Regions from separate parts of the Homo sapiens genome. Here region 2 is linked to region 1. Evidence: promoter capture Hi-C in 16 types of primary human blood cells and fetal thymus (Javierre and others, 2016). All regions are on one chromosome and are shown on one strand. Each heading gives the region's core, a stretch centred on a gene start or on the middle of the fragment in contact. The rest is flanking DNA. Distances are from core to core; before and after follow the strand shown.

Evidence for each region. Contacts are between HindIII fragments. The CHiCAGO score rates a contact against its expected background, and 5 or more counts as called.
Region 2: a contact is called between a fragment that was not itself captured here and the fragment with the promoter of NPY in region 1, in 1 of 17 cell types (erythroblasts). The highest score is 5.4, in erythroblasts.

The regions. Positions count from the first base shown.
Region 1 is chr7:24,281,897-24,286,832 of GRCh38, forward strand. NPY (neuropeptide Y) reads left to right here and starts at 2,294. Exons shown (of 4, transcript NM_000905.4): 1 at 2,294-2,379; 2 at 3,345-3,532. The coding sequence starts at 3,345. The region is part of intron 2 of LOC107986777 (a long non-coding RNA gene); the gene reads right to left. The HindIII fragment of the contact is 8,579 bases long and covers 1-4,936 here.
Region 2 is chr7:23,574,434-23,579,369 of GRCh38, forward strand. No RefSeq gene overlaps it. Among named protein-coding and RNA genes, the nearest start is that of CCDC126, 20 kb to the right of the region's middle. The HindIII fragment of the contact is 1,405 bases long and covers 1,820-3,224 here.

The DNA.
Region 1 (4,936 bases), core at 1,044-3,543:
TGGCTTCCTGAGCATATAACACACATGCATATGTGTAAGAATATATCCAATTGAATATTTTACACATTTGTAGCTTTGTATATATTCAGCAGTATCTATTCATTCCTTCTGCTTCTTTACCTTAGGTTTAGTCATGAAACCACTGGGTTTCATGTGGTCCAGGTTCTATCTGAATCAAGCTATGAACCTGCTATCAGTAAGACCTCCTAATTGCAAACCACATGGACCTTTACCGGTTATTTGACTTCTCTCGGTCATTACCTTCTCTAGTCTCCACTGATTCACCTCCTTTTGAATCTCAACAAGCTCAACAGTATCTCAATGTTATCTTAACAAAGCTGTTAGAAATAAACAACTTGACTTTGAAACAAAGGAGAGAAATGGCTCAGCAGCTAGGAGAAGATGCAGGGTTGAGTTGCCAACAGTTGGTTTTGTTTGTATTTTGGCCAGGGGATGTGGCTTGGACTGGAGAGAAAGGAGATAAGGATGTAAGCACATGTAGGGCATATCACCCCCTATTTTTTATTCTCTGAATCCTTAACCCTCAGAATAAGTTCTTATTCTTGAGAATCAATGACATTATCTTAAGCTAAATTAATCAAGCCTCCACAGTGTTCTTCTCTCAATAGTGGTGTGGGCCTTCCTAGAAGTAATTTTTCCCAAATTCAGTGATACATTTTAAGTTCAGATTTTAATTGATATGAATCTGTGATACACTCTAAAATAAGATTATTTTATTGAAAAGTGGACTGTAACTTTCCCTTTATCTAGGAAGAGCTCTAAGTTAGAAGATGTTTTGCACTTTTACCGAAGGCTGTGTCTTGTAAGCACCCCCGAGCAACTCTGAGAGCCTTGATTTTTGTGTCCTCAGCATATGTTTGTGTAATACAGAAAGAGAAGCAGTTGCCAAGTGAAAGGGATGTTGGTCTCCAAAATTATAGTTTGATCCCACAAACACACAAACACATACATGCAAAGGATTGTTTGCTTCACGGTTTTTGATATTTAATTCAATGCTGTTGGAACAGCACAAAAACTAAGTGTCAGTTTAACAGAATCACTTGTCCTTTTAGCATTAAAATAACATGGAACTTAATGCTTTAATTTCCCAACATGCCTTTTTATTTAGAAAGATTCAGACTTATATTTCATTTAGAAATAAAATGCCATTTTATTTAGAAAGATACAGGAGCATTCATTCACGGAACTTTCAGATCTCAGTCCACTGCATAAAATCTTGATCCTGTAATAATAGTTTCTGTATCTTGCATATTCATTCAACAGGTTTAACGCGATGAGCAAATTAATGTTCATCGTTTTTAACATGTTTCATCTTAATCAGAACCCACATTCTCAACGTTAATTGAACGTACATAGGACTATACAAGGGTTAGTAAATAAGACAGAAACTGTTGTTCATTTAACCACCGTCACTTTGGACCAAAAAAGAAAAAATATATATTTTTAAAATTGAGCTTAAAAGAGTCTCTAGAAGCTGGAAGCGTGGCTCTTTTTCAGCAAACTGGGGGAATAGGTTTACCGTGTTCCCCCTCTGGGGAATTTTGAGTCGCCACACTCATGTCTCGACCGAGCCTGGCTCGCTGCGTCTGAGCGAGTACTTGAGGAAGGCTGATCTAGAAAAACCAGCTGAGAGAAGGGGCAGAAGCCCCTGAAACCACGGGCGGGGGTGGGGTGGGGAGCGCAGCTTTGGGACCCTCTAGCCGGAGACTTCCGGCAGCTGCCTCCGACTTGTTCTAAGTACAGGAAAAATCTGTGCGCCCAGTTGCCTCACTCCAACAGCGCGCAGTTGTGCCCGGCGAGGATGCCGCGCTAGTCGTGGAGATGCCCCACCACAAAGAGGATTCAGGTGCTTCCTACTCCGGCACCCAGTGGGTTGGTAGTCCTGTTGGCAGGAGACAAGAATCGTCTGGGCTGCTCCTATCTCTGGCAGGACTAGACGGGGCGTGAAGGAAAGAAGGAAAGAAGGAAAGCAGGGATCGGGCACTGCCCGAGGGCAGATACTTGGGCTTTGGTGTTGTCCAGCGCGCTCGGAGTGCGCTGCCTCGCTCACGCGGTCCCAGGCCCCGCTTCTTCAGGCAGTGCCTGGGGCGGGAGGGTTGGGGTGTGGGTGGCTCCCTAAGTCGACACTCGTGCGGCTGCGGTTCCAGCCCCCTCCCCCCGCCACTCAGGGGCGGGAAGTGGCGGGTGGGAGTCACCCAAGCGTGACTGCCCGAGGCCCCTCCTGCCGCGGCGAGGAAGCTCCATAAAAGCCCTGTCGCGACCCGCTCTCTGCACCCCATCCGCTGGCTCTCACCCCTCGGAGACGCTCGCCCGACAGCATAGTACTTGCCGCCCAGCCACGCCCGCGCGCCAGCCACCGTGAGTGCTACGACCCGTCTGTCTAGGGGTGGGAGCGAACGGGGCGCCCGCGAACTTGCTAGAGACGCAGCCTCCCGCTCTGTGGAGCCCTGGGGCCCTGGGATGATCGCGCTCCACTCCCCAGCGGACTATGCCGGCTCCGCGCCCCGACGCGGACCAGCCCTCTTGGCGGCTAAATTCCACTTGTTCCTCTGCTCCCCTCTGATTGTCCACGGCCCTTCTCCCGGGCCCTTCCCGCTGGGCGGTTCTTCTGAGTTACCTTTTAGCAGATATGGAGGGAGAACCCGGGACCGCTATCCCAAGGCAGCTGGCGGTCTCCCTGCGGGTCGCCGCCTTGAGGCCCAGGAAGCGGTGCGCGGTAGGAAGGTTTCCCCGGCAGCGCCATCGAGTGAGGAATCCCTGGAGCTCTAGAGCCCCGCGCCCTGCCACCTCCCTGGATTCTTGGGCTCCAAATCTCTTTGGAGCAATTCTGGCCCAGGGAGCAATTCTCTTTCCCCTTCCCCACCGCAGTCGTCACCCCGAGGTGATCTCTGCTGTCAGCGTTGATCCCCTGAAGCTAGGCAGACCAGAAGTAACAGAGAAGAAACTTTTCTTCCCAGACAAGAGTTTGGGCAAGAAGGGAGAAAAGTGACCCAGCAGGAAGAACTTCCAATTCGGTTTTGAATGCTAAACTGGCGGGGCCCCCACCTTGCACTCTCGCCGCGCGCTTCTTGGTCCCTGAGACTTCGAACGAAGTTGCGCGAAGTTTTCAGGTGGAGCAGAGGGGCAGGTCCCGACCGGACGGCGCCCGGAGCCCGCAAGGTGGTGCTAGCCACTCCTGGGTTCTCTCTGCGGGACTGGGACGAGAGCGGATTGGGGGTCGCGTGTGGTAGCAGGAGGAGGAGCGCGGGGGGCAGAGGAGGGAGGTGCTGCGCGTGGGTGCTCTGAATCCCCAAGCCCGTCCGTTGAGCCTTCTGTGCCTGCAGATGCTAGGTAACAAGCGACTGGGGCTGTCCGGACTGACCCTCGCCCTGTCCCTGCTCGTGTGCCTGGGTGCGCTGGCCGAGGCGTACCCCTCCAAGCCGGACAACCCGGGCGAGGACGCACCAGCGGAGGACATGGCCAGATACTACTCGGCGCTGCGACACTACATCAACCTCATCACCAGGCAGAGGTGGGTGGGACCGCGGGACCGATTCCGGGAGCGCCAGTGCCTGCACACCAGGAGATCCTGGGGATGTTAGGGAAAGGGATTGTTTCTTTTCCTTCGCTCTATCCCAGGGCAGGACAGTATCAGGCACTTAGTCAGCTCTAGGTAAATGTTTGTACAGGGCACACTCTACACAAAATGGGTACCTTCCATTTTGTGCAACTACAGTCACAGAGTCGTGATCCCCAGATTCAGGTTCCCCAGGCTGGTAGGCTGGCAATCTCCTCTCACTCACCTCTTATGGTTTGTTGTGGTTCTTACGGCAGTGGGGCCCGGTCCAGAAATCTCGAAAGTACCCAGTGAAAGGGGCAAGAATGCGCCAGAGAAATGCTGTAGGGGGAAACGCTAGCAAGGTGTCTAGGAGAAACAGAACGACCACCAAAGAAAACCAAACCAAGGAGTAAACTGCAGGGTTGCCACAGACATTGTCAGACTTTCCGGCCTGCCCAGGGCTAATTGAATGACAGTATTTAGAAAAAGACAAATAGAGCTATTTTCTTTTCTTCTTCACTGTGTTTTTTTTGCAGTCTCACTCCCATATTTGAAAATTCTAGTCCCAATAATTAGAGATTTAGCCTGAAAACAGTTTATCTAAAATGCAGAGGTCTCCCTATTTTATAGCTGGTGAATTCTGAAAAGAAAGTGCCCACTTGGTATTTCATTAAGAAGAAACTTACGTTGGTCCAGTAACTTTAGGATGAATTCAGGGATTACATGGAATCTGAGAAATTGTAAACTTTATTCTGAACATTCCGAAAGTCAAAATGAAATGCCATATTTTCACTCTCAACATTGACAATTAAGGGAAAAATCAAATCCAAACTATTTTACAAATTACATAGGATTTAAATTTTGTTTTCAAAATTGGTTGATCTTAGTTCTAAATCATTTAATATCTTATTTTAATTACTGAGATTAAATGATTTTAGTCATTTGACCGTATCTAAAGGATAAGCCCTTTAGAAGCATTAATGTTAGTTAACATGTTTAAATTATATGTTTAAAGTATTGTGGGGTTTATATATTTATTTATTTAGTCCATATTTTTACTGTTTACAAGTCAGGGAGTAGTTGGAAAGGATCCAAAAGGGGGGAAGATTTATACTTTTAAAATAAAGTTTGCTTTTTCCTGTTTCATCAAAAAGGTATTTAACATCCTAAAACACTTTTGAAAAAGCCCCAATTTATATAGAATCTGAAAAACATGAAAATGCCAGAATTAAATAGTAGTTGTTTGTGATCCCTTGAAATCTGATCATTTTAATTAGCAAAAAGCAATAATATTTTATATTCCATACTTCCCAGAAAGTTAATTGATTCAAATTCTTGCTATGTTATGCCGTCATGCAGATCAAAGAGAACTTGTAC
Region 2 (4,936 bases), core at 1,272-3,771, 710 kb before region 1:
GATGCTAATGTTCCCAGGAGGTAGAGATTCTTCAGGGCTGTTCCCAAGACCCTTGATGTGTCACTCTACACTTGGTGTTCTTCCTGGACCTGAGATCCCTTGATACATATATTTTTTTCTTTCTTGGAGAAACTAGGTCGTCCCCACTGTCTTTTTTTTTCTTTTTTTTCTTTTTTTTGAGACGGAGTCTCGCTCTGTCGCCCAGGCTGGAGGGCAGTGGCGCGATCTTGGCTCACTGCAAGCTCTGCCCCTGGGTTCACGCCATTCTCCTGCCTCAGCCTCCCGAGTAGCTGGGACTACAGGCGCCTGCCACCACACCTGGCTAATTTTTTTTTTTTTTTTTTGTATTTTTATTAGAGACCGGGTTTCACCGTGTTAGCCAGGATGGTCTCGATCTCCTGACCTCGTGATCCGCCCGTCTCGGCCTCCCGAAGTGCTGGGATTACAGGCGTGAGCCACCCCCACTCCCGTTTAGTTCAAAAATTTTTAAGTATGTAACAGTGAGGAGGCAAGGTCCTGTCTTCTCGACTGCTGTTCATGGCATGTCTAGTCTTTTGCCTTAGGCTGGCCCCAGAGACTTTGGCCAAGTTGCATTCAGAACATGTAGGCCAGGGCCAGGCATGGTGATTCATGCCTGTAATCCCAGCACTTTGGGAGACCCAGGTGGGTGGATCACTGGAGGTCAGGGGTTCGAGACCAGCCTGGCCAACATGGTGAAACCTCATCTCTACTAAGCATACAAGAATTAGGTGGGCATGGTGGTGCATGCCTGTAATCCCAGCTACCTGGGAGGCTGAGTCAGGAGAATTGCTTGAACCCAGGAGGTAGAGGTTGCAGTGAGCCGAGATCGTGCCACTGCACTCTAGCCTGGGTGACAGAGTGAGACTCTGTCTCAAAATAAAACAAAAACATCTAGGCCAGGCCTGTGTTATGAAATAGCAAGAGTTCAGGGGACTGTGTGTGCTCTACCAGTAAATCCTGTTATAGATGCACATATGGCACTAGTAGTGTGTGTCTGTAACTTTGTGATATCCTCCACCCCAAGCACAATAAAGCCTACAATAAAGGCCTTGCTAAAATAAAGTATACATGCTATAATTTTAGCCAAAAATCCAGAAACATTCTTGAAATCACTTATGCCACTTCGAATTAGTTGGATGTTAATCAGCCAATAGCAATGATATTCTCTGGATCAAATCAAAGACTAAATACACTATTCTTTTTTTTTTTTTCTTTTCTTGACACAGGGTCTCGCTCTGTCACCCAGACTGGAATGCAGTGGCACGGTTTTAGCTCACTACAGTCTCCACCGCCAGGTTCAGGCGATTCTCATGCCTCAGCCTCCCCAGTAGCAGGGATTACAGGTGCATGCCAGAATGCCCAGCTAATTTTTGTATTTTTAGTAGAGACAGGGTTTCGCCATGTTGGCCAGGCTGGTCTCGAACTCCTGGCTTCAAGTGATCCACCTGCCTTGGCCTCCCAAAGTGCTGGGATTACAGGCCACCGTGCCTGGCCTAAATATAGTATTCTTGATCTGCCCAAACACTGAACACCCTGATGAAGTATAAACAAAATCACTTTTGAACACAGGAGGAAAATGTTTATTAAATGTTGTTAACGTAATTGGATTTAATTTAGACAAGATATACAATGCACTAGAAAAGTTAAACAAAACAAAAGAAGATCTTTAAGCAAAGAGCAATTTGTGAGCTTTGTGGGAGAATGAAATTTATTTTGAAGTTGCACTAGTCACAGTTATTTGGTATTACTATTTCTAATGTCATTAATTCCTATTCATTGCTATTACTAATGTTAGCAAAGCTTTAGCAAAAAACCTTACATATCCAAGTTTCACTTTTGAGAAAATATTTTTTAAATTTTAGAGAAAATAGTTCTTTTTTTTCTGAGTCTGTTTCTAGGGAAGAGAAAATAGTTCTAAAACAAAGTATACTGAACAAGATGACATTCAAATAAAATATGCAGAAATTAGAGCAAAGAAACAGAAAAGTTTATATAAATTTCATAAATGAGATGATTCATGTACAAATAACCATCAAACATTTCCATAAAGCATGCTTTCTAGATATGATAGATTGAAGAGACATTTAAACAAATTGATTAGCATACTCCCAATTTTAGTTTTTTTTGTAATGCCCCAGCATTAAAAACTTTGAAACAACTTAATAAATATTCTCCTTCTTTTTTTTTTTTCTGAGACAGAGTCTCACTCTGTTGCCCAGGCTGTAGTACAGTGATGCGGTCTTAGCTCACAGCAACCTCCACCTTCTGGGTTCAAATGATTCTCCTGCCTCAGCCTCCTGAGTAGCTGGGACTACAGGAACAAGCCACCATTCCTGGCTAATTTTTGTATTTTTGGTAGAGATGGGGTTTCACCATGTTGGCCAGGCTGGTCTTGAACTGACCTCAGGTGATCCACCCGCCTCAGCCCCCCAAAGTGTTGGGATTACAGGTGTGAGCCATCATGCCCGGCCAGAATTTAATATTCTATGGATATATTGTTTTTAAAGAGATAATAGGCCAGGCATGGTGCTTCACGCCTGTAATCCCAGCACTTTGAAGGCCCAAGGTGGGAAGATTGCTTGAGGCCAGGAGTTCGAGACCAGCCTCGGCAAAATAGCCAGACCTCCGTCTCTAATTTTTTTAAAAAATAAGAAAAAGAAAATTGCAATATAACTGAAAGCAATTTGTATAGTAAAATTAAAATATTTGCAATATTTTTATTATAATAATTTATTATATGCATTACAATAAACAATTAATGGCATCATTTTATTGTCATGGTATATGATGCTAGAGGTAAGACTAGTGCTTACTTTAGGGCCGGGTACAGTGGCTCACATCTGTAATCCCAGCACTTTGGGAGACCGAGGTGGGTGAATTACTTGAATCCACGAGTTTGAGATCAGCCTGGGCAATATGGCCAAACGTTGTTTCTACAAAAAATACAAAGCTGAAGTGGGAGGACGACTTGAGTCCAGGAGGCAGAGGTTGCAGTGAGCTCAGAAAGCACCATTGCACTCCAACGTGGACTACAGAGACCCTGTCTCCAAAAAAAAAAAAAAAAGAATACTGCTTACTTTGTGGGGTACAGAAAGAATAGAAAGGGGCCTGAGAGATCTTACTGGGGAGCTGATCTATTTCTTGATCTGGGTGGTGGGTTTCATGGGCATAAACATGCACAAAGGTATTGAGTTATACACTTAAGCTTTGTGCACTTTACTGTATACAGGTTGTACACCTCAATGTGAATGTTTAAAAATTCATGGTTCTTTTTTTTTTTTTTTTGAGATGGAGTCTTGCTTTGTCGCCCACGCTGGAGTGCAATGGCACAATCTCAGCTCACTGCAACCTCTGCCTCCCGGGTTCAAGCGATTCTTCTGCCTCAGCCTCCCGAGTAGCTGGGATTACATGCATGTGCCACCACGCCCGGCTAATTTTTGTATTTTTAGTAGAAACGGGATTTCACCATGTTGGCCAGGCTGGTCTCCAACTCCTGATGTCAGGTGATCCACCCGCCTCGGGCTCCCAAAGTGGATTACAGGCGTGAGCCACTGTACCCAGACCATGGTTAATTTTTTAATATAAGTATGGCATCAGATGAGTGAAATTTCTCCAAATTAATACAAAAATTGGCCGGGTGCAGTAGCTCATGCCTGTAATCCCAGCACTTTGGGAGGTCGAGGCGGGTGGATCACCTGAGGTCAGGAGTTCGAGACCAGCCTGGCCAACATAGTGAAACCCCCATCTCTATTAAAAACACAAAAATTAGCTGGGCGTGGTGGTGCATGCCTGTAATCTGAGCTACTCAGGAGGCTGAGGCAGGAGAATCACTTGAACCCGGGAGGTGGAGGTTGCAGTGAGCTGAGATGGTACTACTGCACTGCAGCCTGGGTGTTTTAGCAAGACTCTGTCTCAGAAAAAAAATTATATATCTATAACCACTCGAAAACGTGTGTCTGCATTGGTCTTGCTGCCAGTAGAAAAGAAAATAGGGGAAGGTTTTGATTGTTATAGTGATTTTGCTGAAAAAGAAAGGCAAGAAAAATAAAGTTTTAGAATAAATATCTAATTTTTGAATTACATAGGTCTTTAAAACTCATCCAGATGTCATCATCCATCAACAGAAGATGTGGGTAAAAATAATTAATTTTAGCCTTCTTGGATGTTATGCCAACTCTAAGTCATATAAAACTCAGAGTTTTACAGATACATTTCAATTTTTCTTTTTAAAAAATTAAGGCTGAATGAAAAGGTTAAATTTGTCTTTACAAAGGAATATTTGGCAAGGAAGAAGAATAAATATCTAATTTTACAGCATGTTATTATCACTTATGACTTTTTTTTTTTTTTTTTGAGACAGAGCCTCACTCTGTTGCCTAGGCTGGAGTGCAGTGGTGCTATCTCGGCTCACTGCAACCTTCACCTCCCGGGTCAAGCGATTCTTCTGCCTCAGCTTCCCATGTAGCTGGGACTACGGGCGTGCGCTACCACTCCTGGCTAATTTTTGTGTTTTTGGTAGTGACAGAGTTTCTCCACGTTGGCCAGGCTGGTCTTGAACTCCTGACCTCGTGATCCACCTGCCTCGGCCTCCAAAAGTGCTGGGATTACAGGTGTGAGCCACCACGCCCGGCATCACTTATGACTTTTAAATATTTAAACTTATGATATATAGGCTGCCTTTGGTTTCTTGCCTCAGACCCCACAAATGTTAAGGGTGGGCCTGATTAAGGGAATGGACAGGTGAACTGTGGCATGGAGTTAGATTTATGTATCATAATATGGGTAGATCTCAAAAAATAATATTGAAAGAGATAAAGAAGAAACTGAATATTATTTATGTTTTTCAATAATAAACATTTATTTGACTTTTTCTTTCTTTCTTTTTTTTTTTTTTTTTTTTGAGACAGTGTCTCTG